4 separate regions of the Homo sapiens genome follow, and regions 1, 2 and 3 are each linked to region 4. The links are contacts of gene promoters, found by promoter capture Hi-C in blood cells and fetal thymus (Javierre and others, 2016). All regions are on one chromosome and are shown on one strand. The core of a region is centred on a gene start or on the middle of the fragment in contact, and the rest is flanking DNA. Distances in the headings are between cores, read along the strand shown. Region 1 has its middle 38 kb from the start of LINC03139. Region 2 holds the start of PSAP (prosaposin). Region 3 overlaps PSAP (prosaposin). Region 4 holds the start of SLC29A3 (solute carrier family 29 member 3).

Region 1 (3,050 bases), core at 400-2,899, 600 kb before region 4:
AAAATTCCTAGTCAATTGTGGCTTTAATGGAGGCCCAAAGACCTTTTGTCATTCACAGACAATTGCTGTCTTGTTTCAATCCTCTTCAAAAGGTAGTTTTATAATCAACTATAGAACTCTTAACAGGTGCTCTTGAATGCAGATTTCTGATAACTTTGGAGACTGTGACATTAGAATAGAGAAAAAACATTCAGGACTCTCATGTACAGCTGAAATGTTCATGAATACCAAGCAGAACAGGAGTTAATAGCATGGAATAATCTTTCTGACTTTTTGGTTAAAACATTGCTGATCCTTTGTTTTATTTTTCAGAGTCAAGAAAACTTTTAAGCTATTTACAGCTTGTAGCAATTGAATAAAATATATCCCTGTGAACAAAATTTGGAACATACCTGATTTCTCCAAAATTTGGAAGCTATTTGTGAGTATTCTTAATTTATGGCAAAATAGTAATTTACACAAGTGCAATAAGAATCTGTTTTCTTTTGCAACAGGACACAATTTGATAAATTGATTATTTTACCAAGGCTTTGACTGGAATGGTGTGCTTTCCTTTAAGGAATCAAATTTGACTTATAAAGTCAATAAAAGCCCCTTGGGAAAACTGGCCTCATATCTTGTCTACACAGTCCATTTGCAGGGTTCCTGACCTGTGGTAAGTAAAGAATGTCACTTTCTTTTTTTTCCTTTTTTTTTTTTTTTTTTTTGAGACAGAGTCAAGTTCTGTTGCCCAGGCTGAAGTGCAGTGGTATGATCTCGGCTCACTGAAAATTCTGCCTCCTGGGTTCAAGCAGTTCTCCTACCTCAGCCTCCCAGGTAGGGGCTGGGATTACAGGCATGCACCATCACACCCGGCTAATTTTGTATTTTTAGTAGAGACAGGGTTTCACCATGTTAGCCAGGTTGTTCTTGAACTCCTGACCTCAGGTGATCCGTCTGCCTCAGCCTTATAAGCTTGTTGGCTGCTTCTGATTGGTTAAGTTCAACTTCTGTTTTTCTTTAATATAAGCATTTACAAGAAATAGCTTAAGTTCAGTTTTACTTATGTTTGTAAATCAAGCAAGGCTTAGATCATTTATGATGCCGAACTGGTTTTATCTGCTCGGGGATTCTTCAGGCCTGACCTCCATTTCAATTTAACACATACTAGATTCCCTTCTTCCTAAGGAGCTAGGGCTTTATTTTGTGGATTCTGGAGGAGAGGTAGGATGGAAGCTGAGTTTTAGTGAAACAACCTTGACAGGCATATAAAGGACCCCTAGTGTCTTCCTTGAGGCATGACAGCATGTAGCCACATGATCAATCTAAGACAGGCTGCAGAGGAATTCTGCCTCTCTAAAGTGATGGTGCCCAAGAAACAGGGATGGGCTTTACTGAAGGCTGCCTCAGCACCTGAGCCACCGGCCCCCCATGCTGCTCCTCCAGCCTCAGGTTTTTTTTTTTTTTTTTTGAGACAGAGTCTTGCTCTGTCACCCAGGCTGGAGTGCAGTGGTACGATCTTGGCTTACTGCAACCTCCATCTCCCTGGTTCAAGTGGCTCTCCTGCCTCAGCCTCCTGAGTTCCTGGGATTACAGGTGTGTGCCACCATGCCCGGCTAATTTTCATATTTTTAGTAGAGACAGGGTTCCTCCATGTTGGTCAGGCTGGTCTCGAACTCTTGACCTCCAGTAATTCACCTGTCTTGGCCTCCCAAAGTACTAGGATTACAGGCCACCACGCCTGATCCGGCCTCACCTTTTTATAGCAAGCCCCACTCTCAGCACCAACTGGTCTCCTTTGAGAAGTGGTGGTACACTCATATTTCCAGGACGGCCAGATGCAATTTGATGGTGGAAGTGAGACGATTGCAAAAAATCCAAAGGCCCCAGACTCCCTCCCCCATTTTGACTCCACTGCACCAAGTTCTGACCCCTAATTTGCCGAAGAGACTTCTGGCCACAGAGCATCACCAAAATGCAAGTCAAAGGGGCCAACCTAAGGTCTGAAGGTCTGCCAGGGAATTATATAGTACAGGGGTGGCCAGACTCCCAAATTATAGGGCTGCCAGGCTAGCTGGTGATTGGGGTGGATAAAAATAAGCCCTGGCCAAGGTTGGGAGGTGAAGGGGCATCTCCTCTTGGAGAACAGGGCTGGCTACAGACGTGGCCTTAGCAGGACATGGGTGGCAGGGTCACGCCTCTCCCTCTGTCCTGCGTCTCTGCCATTGACAGTCACTTGTCCACAGACAATCAAAGATAGAGGATATAACATGTTAACATTAGTTACTTCTCTTTTCTTCCATCTTTGGGGACTAATTAAAAAACATCTTGGGAAAATATTTTGGGGCCCATTTATAAAGCTTACAATATTGTGTTTTATTCTTAGTATCTTTACTTTTAAAATATGCCATTCCATCTTTGTGAAAATACCAGGAAAAAAAAAATTAAAGTGTGCTAGAAGGGCCAGGCATGGTGGCTCGCGCCTGTAGTCCTAGCATTTTAGGAGGTGGCAACAGAGGGAGACCCCCTCTCTACACGAAAAAACATTAACCAGATGTGGTGGCTCCTGTTTGTAGTTTGTACTTGGAAGGCTGAGGTAGGAGGATCGCTTGAGCCTGGGAGGTCGAGGCTGAGGTGAGCCGAGATCACGTCACTGCACTCTAGTCTGGGTGACAGAGATACCCTGTGTCTGAAACAAAACAAGTAGAATGTGCCAGAAGGGCAGAATTGTGTTCAGAGCTGGCTACCATTGTGTGAAATGGATTGGGAGAAATATATTACTATCTTTTTATATAGAAGCATGGATTATGCCCAGAAGAATTATATAGAAATTAATATGCTAGTTGCTTCCAGGAAGGGGAATTGGGTGACTGGGGCCAGAGGTGGGTAGAAAATATTTATGTTTTTCTTTTGCTTACTGAAGAGGGTCTCAAAAGACTCTCAAAAAGTTGACGGGGTGTCATGGAGGCATGCCTTGGACACAGCAATTTCATTTCTAGAAATTTGTCCTCAGAGATAACTGGTGAAGTGCACAAAGATGCACAAAGGGGCTGGGCATGGTGGCTCATGTC
Region 2 (2,833 bases), core at 213-2,712, 530 kb before region 4:
CCCCAGAGGAAGTCAGAGCTGTGGTGGGGGCTGGGGGCACTTAGGGAGATTGCAGGGGAGCAGAACTGAAGGTTCTGAGGCCTTAGTCCCTGGGGTTGTTCTCCAGAGCGGATTGCAGATTGGAGGAAGTTGGAGGAACTGTAGGTTTGCCCTTCCTGGGTCAGGAAACCTGGCTTCGGGCCAGGTTCTATCTCTACCTGTTGTGTGACCTTGGATAAACGTCTTGCCCTCTCCTAGGCTCAATGTCCCTACAGGTAAATGACCTCTAAGTGCCTGCCCTAAGGGGCTAAGATTCCCCTCCTTTCCCTGCCTTGCGGTTGGCAGGTTCTTATCCTTCTGGAGAGGGTCATCATCATTCTCTGTTCAGGTCCTGGCAGGGGCAGCCACAGGCAGAGGGTCTTTGGGTCTTAATTTCTGAAGGCTTCCATGTCACATAAAACGTTGATTACATAAATTTGTTATGCTTTTCTCTTAAGCTGTCTCGTTACAGGAGTGTTGGTTGTGACTCTTATGATCTCTTATGATGGGTGAGGAATGGTATTACATCTTTAACGGTACCACAATGTGAGGCTTAAAAGTTTTTTGTTTTTTTTTTTTTGGTGATGGGAATCTCTCTCGCTCTGTGGTCCAGGCTGCAGTGCAGTAGTGCGATCTTGACTCACGGCAACCTCCACCTCCCGGGTTTAAGCAATTTTCCTGCCTCTGCCTCCTGAAATAGCTGGAACCACAGGCGAGCGCCACCACGCCTGACTAATTTTTGTATTTTTAGTAGAGACAGGGTTTCACCATATTGGCCAGGCTGGTCTTGAACTCCTGACCTCATGATCCGCCCGCCTCGGCCTCCCAAAGTGTTAGGATTACAGGAGTGAGCCAGCATGCCCAGCCCAGACTTGCCTTTGACCAGGTGCCACCACCTGCCCCCACGTGCCCCTGGCCAGGACTGAGCCCTGTACCCTGTTACACGACTACTTATTCTATGTGAAACCCCAAGCTATTCTATGTGAAACCCGCTACTACAATGGGCTAATTTTTTTGTATTTTTTTTTTTGTAGAGATGGGGTTTCACCACGTTGCCCAGGCTAGTCTTGAACCCTCCGCCCGCCTCGGCCTCCCAAGTGTTGGGATTACAGGCGTCAGCCACCGCGGCCGGCCAACAATGTGGAGATTTAAAAGGTATTTTACATATATAATCTCTGACCTATTCAATTAGTAGGGCTTTTCTTTTATGACCTTTCCCTTCCCTTTCTCCAAGTTCTTCCTCACTCCTCCCCATAGCCCTTCCTTTCGCCCCTCCCATTGCCCCCTCCTATTGGCCTCCCCTTCGCGCAGGCGCCCTCAGAGGCGCTGAGTCAGGGCGCTGTTGAGCTCGGGCAGGCCCGGATGGGGCGGGGTTAGCGCCTGCGCTCTGGACGGCTTTGGGGCAGGGCAGATTTATATCTGCGGGGGATCAGCTGACGCTCCGCATTGCAGACTGCGGAGTCAGACGGCGCTATGTACGCCCTCTTCCTCCTGGCCAGCCTCCTGGGCGCGGGTAAGCCCTGGGACCCTCATCCTGGGGAGGAGGTGCCTCGCAGCGTCCATCTGCCCCAGAATGGGCTGTGCCGGGCCTGGCCCCTCTGCTCCCCCTGCCCTAGTTGGCAAGGGGGCGCGCGCACTGCGCAGGCGCGTTCGCTGGCTTTCTCTGGCTTTCTCTGGGCGGCTGGGGGCTGCGGGGGGCGGGCTGCGAAAATGCCCCCGGGAGGACGGCCCAGGCCCTGGGCAGCATCTCCTTCGGGGCTCGAGTGGGTTCCTGCGCGGCTGGGGCCCCGAGGCCTTCCCTCAGGCTGCGCTTCCCACTGTGGGGGTGGGTGAGTCTTGTAGGGTGACCCCTTGGGCAGCTGTGTTGTGCCTGTGCTGGGCGCACGTGATCGAGGTGGGCTGGAGCCCCGTCCCGCAGGACACTTTGGCCGTTGGCTTCAGTTGCCTGTTTGTAAGGGTAGCGAAGCTGCAGGAAGCACATGTGTATCATCTATATTGACGTTTGCATATGTATTTACTCTGGATTCTAGGTGTTGACAAAACGAGTCAAACTCTGTAAAAATATTTTGAGATTTATTCTGAGGCAAATATGAGTGACCATGGCCCGTGACACAGCCCTCAGGAGGTCCTGAGAACATGTGCCTAAGGTGGTTGGGATACAGCTGGGTTTTACATATTTTCGGGAGGCACGAGACATCAATCAAATACATTTAAGAAATACGTTGGTTTGGTTCAGAAGGGCGAAACAACTCAAAGCGGCGGGGGGCTTCCAGGCCATAGGTAAATTTAAACATTTTCTAGTTGATAATTGGTTGAGTTTATCTGAAAACCTAGAATCAATAGAAAGAAAGTATTCAAGTTAAGATAAAGGATTGTGGAGACCAAGTTTTATTGTGCAGAGGAAGCTCTCAGGTAGCCGACTAAGAGAGCGAGCACGTTGTAAAATATTTCTATGGAAATGAAAGGGTGACTGGCTCTTAGTTGATTATCTCCTGGATCTGGAGAGGAAGGAAGGAAAACATAGGGGAAAGGGGATTCTCTATAGAATGTGGATTTTTCCCACAAGAGACTTTGCAGGGCAATTTCAAGGTATGGCAAGGAAATATATTTTGGGGTTAGATATTTTGATTTTTTTTTCCTTGTCTTATAAAATGTTATGCCAGAGTCAGATTGGAAAGTAAGTCACGATATATGGGGTCAAATAAAACCCATCTGATGAGAGTTTATGGTTTGTAGGGTATGATTCCTACACCCCTTAGATAGGAATTTGGGCAAGCTAAAAAAAATCGGAGCTTAATTCTCATAGGTATTGAAG
Region 3 (2,894 bases), core at 263-2,762, 510 kb before region 4:
CAGCCTGCCAAGTAGCTGGGATTATAGGTGTACGCCACCATGCCCGGCTAATTTTTGTATTTTTAGTAGAGATGGGGTTTTCAACATGCTGGTCAGGCTGGTCTCGAACTCCTGACCTCGTGATCTGCCCGCCTCGGCCTCCCAAGTGAGCCACCACGCCCGGCCCGGCCCTCTCTTGATATGGTTCCATGCACAGTACCCTTGACCCTCTGTTTCCACAAATGTTGAGGGCTGTCTGTGGAACTTGAGCATCCTGGGGTTTGGGTGTCCATGGGGGTCCTGGAATTGATACCCCCTCAGATACCAAAGGATGACTGTATTAGCCTGACTAGGTTCAAGTTGGTTTCTCTAAATGCAGCTAAGTTCATAGGTGTTCCTCAGTCTCACCCAGACATGTTTCTTCTCCATGGATGGAAAGTCAGTTGACATCAAGAAGGGAGCCTGGGCATTCTTCCCCAAGGGCCGCAGGAACCAATTAGAATTTCCATGGCCTCTGGTCCAGGTGGGGGCCTTGGTGCCAATCAGAAGATTGGCTTTGGTGTGGTCTTGCCTTGTTAACATGCCTGGGAGGCAGGGGATGCGCAGGTGAACGGTTCAGTGTGGGTGTGCCTTCAGAGGTGGGTGGGGCGTTTGTTTCTCTGTCCCACCCACCTCTCTGCCATACTGATGTGACTCTGATTTCACCTGAGCCTCAGTTTCCTCAGAGGTGTTGTGAGCATTGATGTGAAATTGACCTGTGCCACATGGGGTGCTGTGTGGGTATGAGCAAAGGTTCTGTGTCCTGTAACTCACAGTGTGTTCTGGTGAGTCACACCTCTTCCCTCCCTGCCGTGCCCCAGCGCTGCTCATGCAGGGTGGAGAACCAGGATGTGACAGGAGCGCGGTCATGATCATATCCCTGGTTAGAGAGAATAGCGAAAAGGCCATGGGGAGTTCCAGCTGTGTGGGGTGTGAATTTGTGTCCTGCAAATACAAATTTCTCGTATTCTTTCTCTTAGAAATCCCTTCCCTGCGACATATGCAAAGACGTTGTCACCGCAGCTGGTGATATGCTGAAGGACAATGCCACTGAGGTGAGCGGCGGTGAGTGGGGATGGTGCTTGAGCCACGGGCACGTGCACTGGTTCCTAAGAGAGCTGTGATTCCGGGTGTCTAAAGAGGAATGGTGTAGGCCTGAGGGTGGCAAATGTCTTCCACAAAGGATCAAGGAGAAAAGATTTTAGGGTATATGAGCCGTATACTGTCCCTGTCACACAGTCTCTTTTTAAAAATGTAAAAAGAATGTAAACACCATTCCTTGAGTTCTGGGTTGTACAGAAATAAGCTGAAGGGCCTACTTTGCTGACCCCGGGACTAAATGCCCAAAGTTAATTGAGATGTTGTATTGCATGCCACTAATACCTAGGTCCATTTTGGCCATCTCTGCTTAGAATTCCCTGTGCCTGCGAGACTGCAGGTCCAGGGATTTTCATTTTGAATGCTCATGTCTGCTTTTGCCTGATTGACCTAATAGAGCCATAGGTAACATGGCCAAGTCCTTTTCCCTGAGGGCTGGCTGTTTTCCAGGCTTGGTTTTTCTGGGAGCTATTGAGGGCCTCTTGCCTTCAGCCCATTTATTTCCAGGGAGGAAAGCCTATCGTGATTCTGACCCTGGTGTCCTCTCGTAGGAGGAGATCCTTGTTTACTTGGAGAAGACCTGTGACTGGCTTCCGAAACCGAACATGTCTGCTTCATGCAAGGAGATAGTGGACTCCTACCTCCCTGTCATCCTGGACATCATTAAAGGAGAAATGGTAAGTGATGGGGAATAGGCTTTTCCTTGAAGGTGCTTCTGGGGCCCAGGAGAGGCAGTGGCCCAGAGTAGATTGATTAAAATGGAAAGTCTGTTCTTAGCTCTGGAATTCCTCAACAGCATTTTGCTACAATTTGACATCCAGAATAGCTCCTTTGGCACAGCAGGCCACTCTGTATGTAACTTGCCCTGGGGTTAGCGAGGGTGCGGCTGCTGGGGACTGGTCGGACTGCTGAAGGAATGTAAACCGGCATAACCTTCAGAGATGTGAGTTGGATACATCATGTCCAATCTTTAACTGACCCCTTTGAGCAGGCACAAAACCTCACTTCTGTGAATTTATTTCTGTGAACTTATAATCAAGGAATAATTCAGGGAATGTATTGGGGTCTTTCATTCATCAAGTATGTATTGTACACAGACACAAACCCTGTGTCACAGACTGGGTTTTTAGCAAAGAACACGGAGCTAGCTTTGTGGAATTTGGAAAGGCCTTGACAAAGAAGAGGTGTTTAAGTAACTGAAGAGGGCCAGTGGGGCAGGACTTTCCCAAGACAGGACCAAGGTTCTGGTGAGGAAGGCAGGGGTTGTGTCATACACAGCCTCCTAGGCCATCTTCAAGGATTGCAAGTGCAGCCTTGGAGTGTCATGATTGTAAGGGCATTTGTCAAAGGGTTTGGTCTAGGTCTAGGTCCCATTGAGGGAAGCTGCAAGTCCGGAAGCTGACAGGACCCTCAGGAGGTCATTGCTTTGTGAGTGAGATGTGATGTGGACAGTGGAAATGGCAGATGCAGATTCTCTTTTGGAGGATTAAATGGACTGGACTTGCTCATGAGGGGGATGTATAGGAGAGGAAGAGCTATAAATGTCTCCCTGGTTTCTGAGAAGATAAAGGTGGAGTTATTTGCTAAAATGGAGCTAGTTGGGCAGGATAGAATGAGGGGTAAGTTTGAGATGTCTGCAGGGTGGGCATGATTACAGAAGTTAAACACTTGGGAGCCATCAGCATATGGAAGGTGTTGAAAGCCATCGTGTTAGCTCATTTTGTGGGGAAGTGACTTAGAATTGCTGACTCTTCTCCTCCAGCAAGAAGCTCCTATTC
Region 4 (2,700 bases), core at 9-2,508:
CACAGCAAGAAGGAGGCTGTCTGCAAGCCAGGAAGAGAGCCCTCATCAGAAACCAAATCAACCAGCACCTTGATCTTGCCCTTCCCAGCCTCCAGATCCATGAGAAACAAATTTTGTTTAAGCCACCCAGTCTATGCTATTTTGTCTGGCACAAAATGGTACAAATGTAACAAGCTCACTTGTTACATTTTAAAAATTAGTGTTTAAAATGTAAAAAATAATCATGACCCACCCACATAGAACAAGAGAGAACCGGCAAGTGGTTCTTTCCAGAGGCTCCAGCTACCTGTGGGGGCGGCTAGAAGGTCCACCAGCCCTGTCACTCAGGACCACACCTGGCTAGGGCCCCCTTCTCAGTTCCTAGCGTCTATTTGTCAAGGCTTGACTGAGCTTCTGAAGAAGGAGCCAGGAATTTTCTCTAACCAGGGTCACAGGCCAGGGCACTGGAGTGAGCAAAGTCTTATTAGTCTTTATAAAAGCTAGCTGCTGGCTTCTGGATTAAAAAATAAAGAGAAAGGCAGGCAAGGAAGTGCCCAACCTTCCCCAAAACAAGCTGGCTGTGGCCTGGAACGTGCTCCTGGGTCACCTGCGGGAGCCCGGCCATGCACAGACAGACAGCCCCACACAAGGAGGCAGGCACTGCTGGGGCCGCGGCAAAACCTCATCTGGGCTGGGAAGCCTGGGTGCTGGTTCCAAGGAGGTTCCTGACTCTGGCTAGGTGGCTCGCCCCTCTGTGCCTCGATCTCCTGGGCTGTGAACCGGGGTGGGGAGCTGGTAGGGCTAACCTGTGGGAAGGCACTGGGAAGCGCAGGGCACCGCCTACTGGCCGCGGCAGAACCGGCTTTGCGGTGTAAACAGCCCCAGCCTCAGGCCCCGCAGCTGGGACCGAGAGAATCAGCCACCGTCTGGATACTTCGGGCCGACGGGTCCATACCAGGCCCCCACCATACAGGCGGTGAGGTCCAGTCTCAGGGAGGAGGAGGGGAGAGGATTTGGGGAAGAGAAGATAGAGACCCAGAAAGAGGGGTGGCAGAGAGCAAGGAGAGAGAGGAGGGACGGTGGGGAAGGGACCACGGATGGGGTAGGGTCCTGCGGCTCCCCTGGCAGCCCGCAGCCGCCCCCAGGGCCCGGGAGGGAGGTCGCTGAGCGCGAGTCTGGGGGCGGCCGGGACCGTAGCCGGAAGAGCCCGAGCCGGCCCGCACTTACTGTCGCCGCTGCGCCACGCCGCCGCTGCCTCCGGCGCACGGCCAGGACCACTGGGCTTGGCAGGCGGCAGGCGGGCTCCTCCCCCGGCCCCGCCCCGCCCCTCGCGGCAGCACGCCGCCGCTTCCCCGTTTGCAAACACGCTTTTTTCCTTTGTCTTCTGCCGGCGCGCCGGGGCTCCCCCTTCTGGCGCTGAGCTGGGGCCTGCGTGCGCCCATTTTATAGGAGAAAAAGTGAGTCACCCAGTCTTAAACGCACTGCCCATGCTTGCGATGGGTGCGCTGCGCATCAGGCCTTTTGGTTGCTGCTCCTTCTTTACCTTGGAGCCAGACCCCACTGTCTCAGACCTCCCCTTTAGCTACTATAACCTGCACCCCAGGACTCAAAGGAGCCCTCATCTTGTCCCCAGGCCGCTGCAGAGACCCCTCTCCAAAGGCCGCTTCTACCCTTACCGGCTGCCGCTGCTCTGGAGGTGAAGCGGGACCCACACCCGGACTGAACTGGGCCTCCCAGGCCAGGCAGCTATTTTCAGTAGACCCAGAACATGGCAGTCAGCAATTCCAGCCCTCACACTTGACCTCAGCCATAGCGTGTAACACACAGCTGCCGCGTGTTCTTTAAGAAAGCAGGGGCCGGGCGCGGTGGCTCACGCCTGTAATCCCAGCACTTTGGGAGGCCGAAGCAGGCGGATCACCTGAGGTCGGGAGTTTGAGACCAGCCTGGCCAACATGGCGAAACCTCGTCTCTACTGAAAATACAAAAGTAGCCGGGCATGGTGGTGCGTGCCAGTGATCCCAGCTATGTGGGAGGCTGAGGCAGGAGAATCGCTTGAACCCGGGAGGCGGAGATTTCAGTGAACCGAGATGGTGCCACTGCACTCCAGCCTGGAGCCTGGGCGACAGAGCAAGACTCCATCTCAAAAAAAAAAAAAAAAAAAAAAAGGCGGAAACCTTCCTGACTCCCGGTCCTGGCCCAGTTGGCCTATTCAGAGCGGGGATCTGGATGCTTCACAGGGCCTGAAGATCTGTGACCATGGATAGTAAATTCTTGCAGTTGCCATCCCAGGGCTCAGGGGTGCCACAGAACCCATTGAGGCTGTCAGTGTGTGGACAGGTTCTCAGAACATCCCCACTCCCTGCCCCAGCCTCTCATTTTATAACCACCATTCCCCAAACACTGGCCTGATCATAAAAGTCTCGAGTACACATCCAGATTCTGGGGACCTCTCCCCAGGAGGGTTGCTGCCACTCCCCAATCCCTGAGGGTGGTGCTGTATCTGCTTTGTTTGCTCTTCCCTCATCGTGGGCACATAATTTGTGTTCAATAAATACCTGGATTAATACAACCCATCACTCAGGGGGTGCAGAATGGGGATCCAGAATGGATCTATTTAACAAGCTCCACCAGCAGGCGAGTTTGGAGACTAGCACCCTAAATTGTCAGAAAGCCCCCCGGCCCAGGAGAGGAAGGGGCTTAGCTCCAGGCTTACAAGCTGAG

What was found. Contacts are between HindIII fragments. The CHiCAGO score rates a contact against its expected background, and 5 or more counts as called.
Region 1: a fragment that was not itself captured here is called in contact with the fragment with the promoter of SLC29A3 in region 4 in 2 of 17 cell types (naive B cells and total B cells); the score reaches 6.6 in naive B cells.
Region 2: the fragment with the promoter of PSAP here is called in contact with the fragment with the promoter of SLC29A3 in region 4 in 4 of 17 cell types (total CD8 T cells, naive CD4 T cells, naive B cells and 1 more); the score reaches 6.1 in total CD8 T cells.
Region 3: a contact is called between a fragment that was not itself captured here and the fragment with the promoter of SLC29A3 in region 4, in 5 of 17 cell types (total CD4 T cells, total B cells, total CD8 T cells and 2 more). The highest score is 7.1, in total CD4 T cells.

What each region holds. Positions count from the first base shown.
Region 1 is chr10:71,914,344-71,917,393 of GRCh38, reverse strand. No RefSeq gene overlaps it. Among named protein-coding and RNA genes, the nearest start is that of LINC03139, 38 kb to the right of the region's middle. The HindIII fragment of the contact is 1,385 bases long and covers 957-2,341 here.
Region 2 is chr10:71,849,880-71,852,712 of GRCh38, reverse strand. It overlaps PSAP (prosaposin), which reads left to right and starts at 1,462. Exons shown (of 14, transcript NM_002778.4): 1 at 1,462-1,531. The coding sequence starts at 1,492. RefSeq lists enhancers at 1,251-1,781, 1,782-2,312, 2,704-2,833. The HindIII fragment of the contact is 9,568 bases long and covers 1-2,833 here.
Region 3 is chr10:71,830,025-71,832,918 of GRCh38, reverse strand. It overlaps PSAP (prosaposin), which reads left to right. Exons shown (of 14, transcript NM_002778.4): 3 at 999-1,073; 4 at 1,668-1,793. Among named protein-coding and RNA genes, the nearest start is that of PSAP, 20 kb to the left of the region's middle. The HindIII fragment of the contact is 4,261 bases long and covers 1-2,894 here.
Region 4 is chr10:71,317,817-71,320,516 of GRCh38, reverse strand. It overlaps SLC29A3 (solute carrier family 29 member 3), which reads right to left and starts at 1,258. Exons shown (of 6, transcript NM_018344.6): 1 at 1,207-1,258. The coding sequence starts at 1,207. LOC124902445 (a long non-coding RNA gene) reads left to right here and starts at 854. Exons shown (of 2, transcript XR_007062183.1): 1 at 854-955; 2 at 1,613-2,548. RefSeq lists a silencer at 1,012-1,461. The HindIII fragment of the contact is 7,819 bases long and covers 1-2,700 here.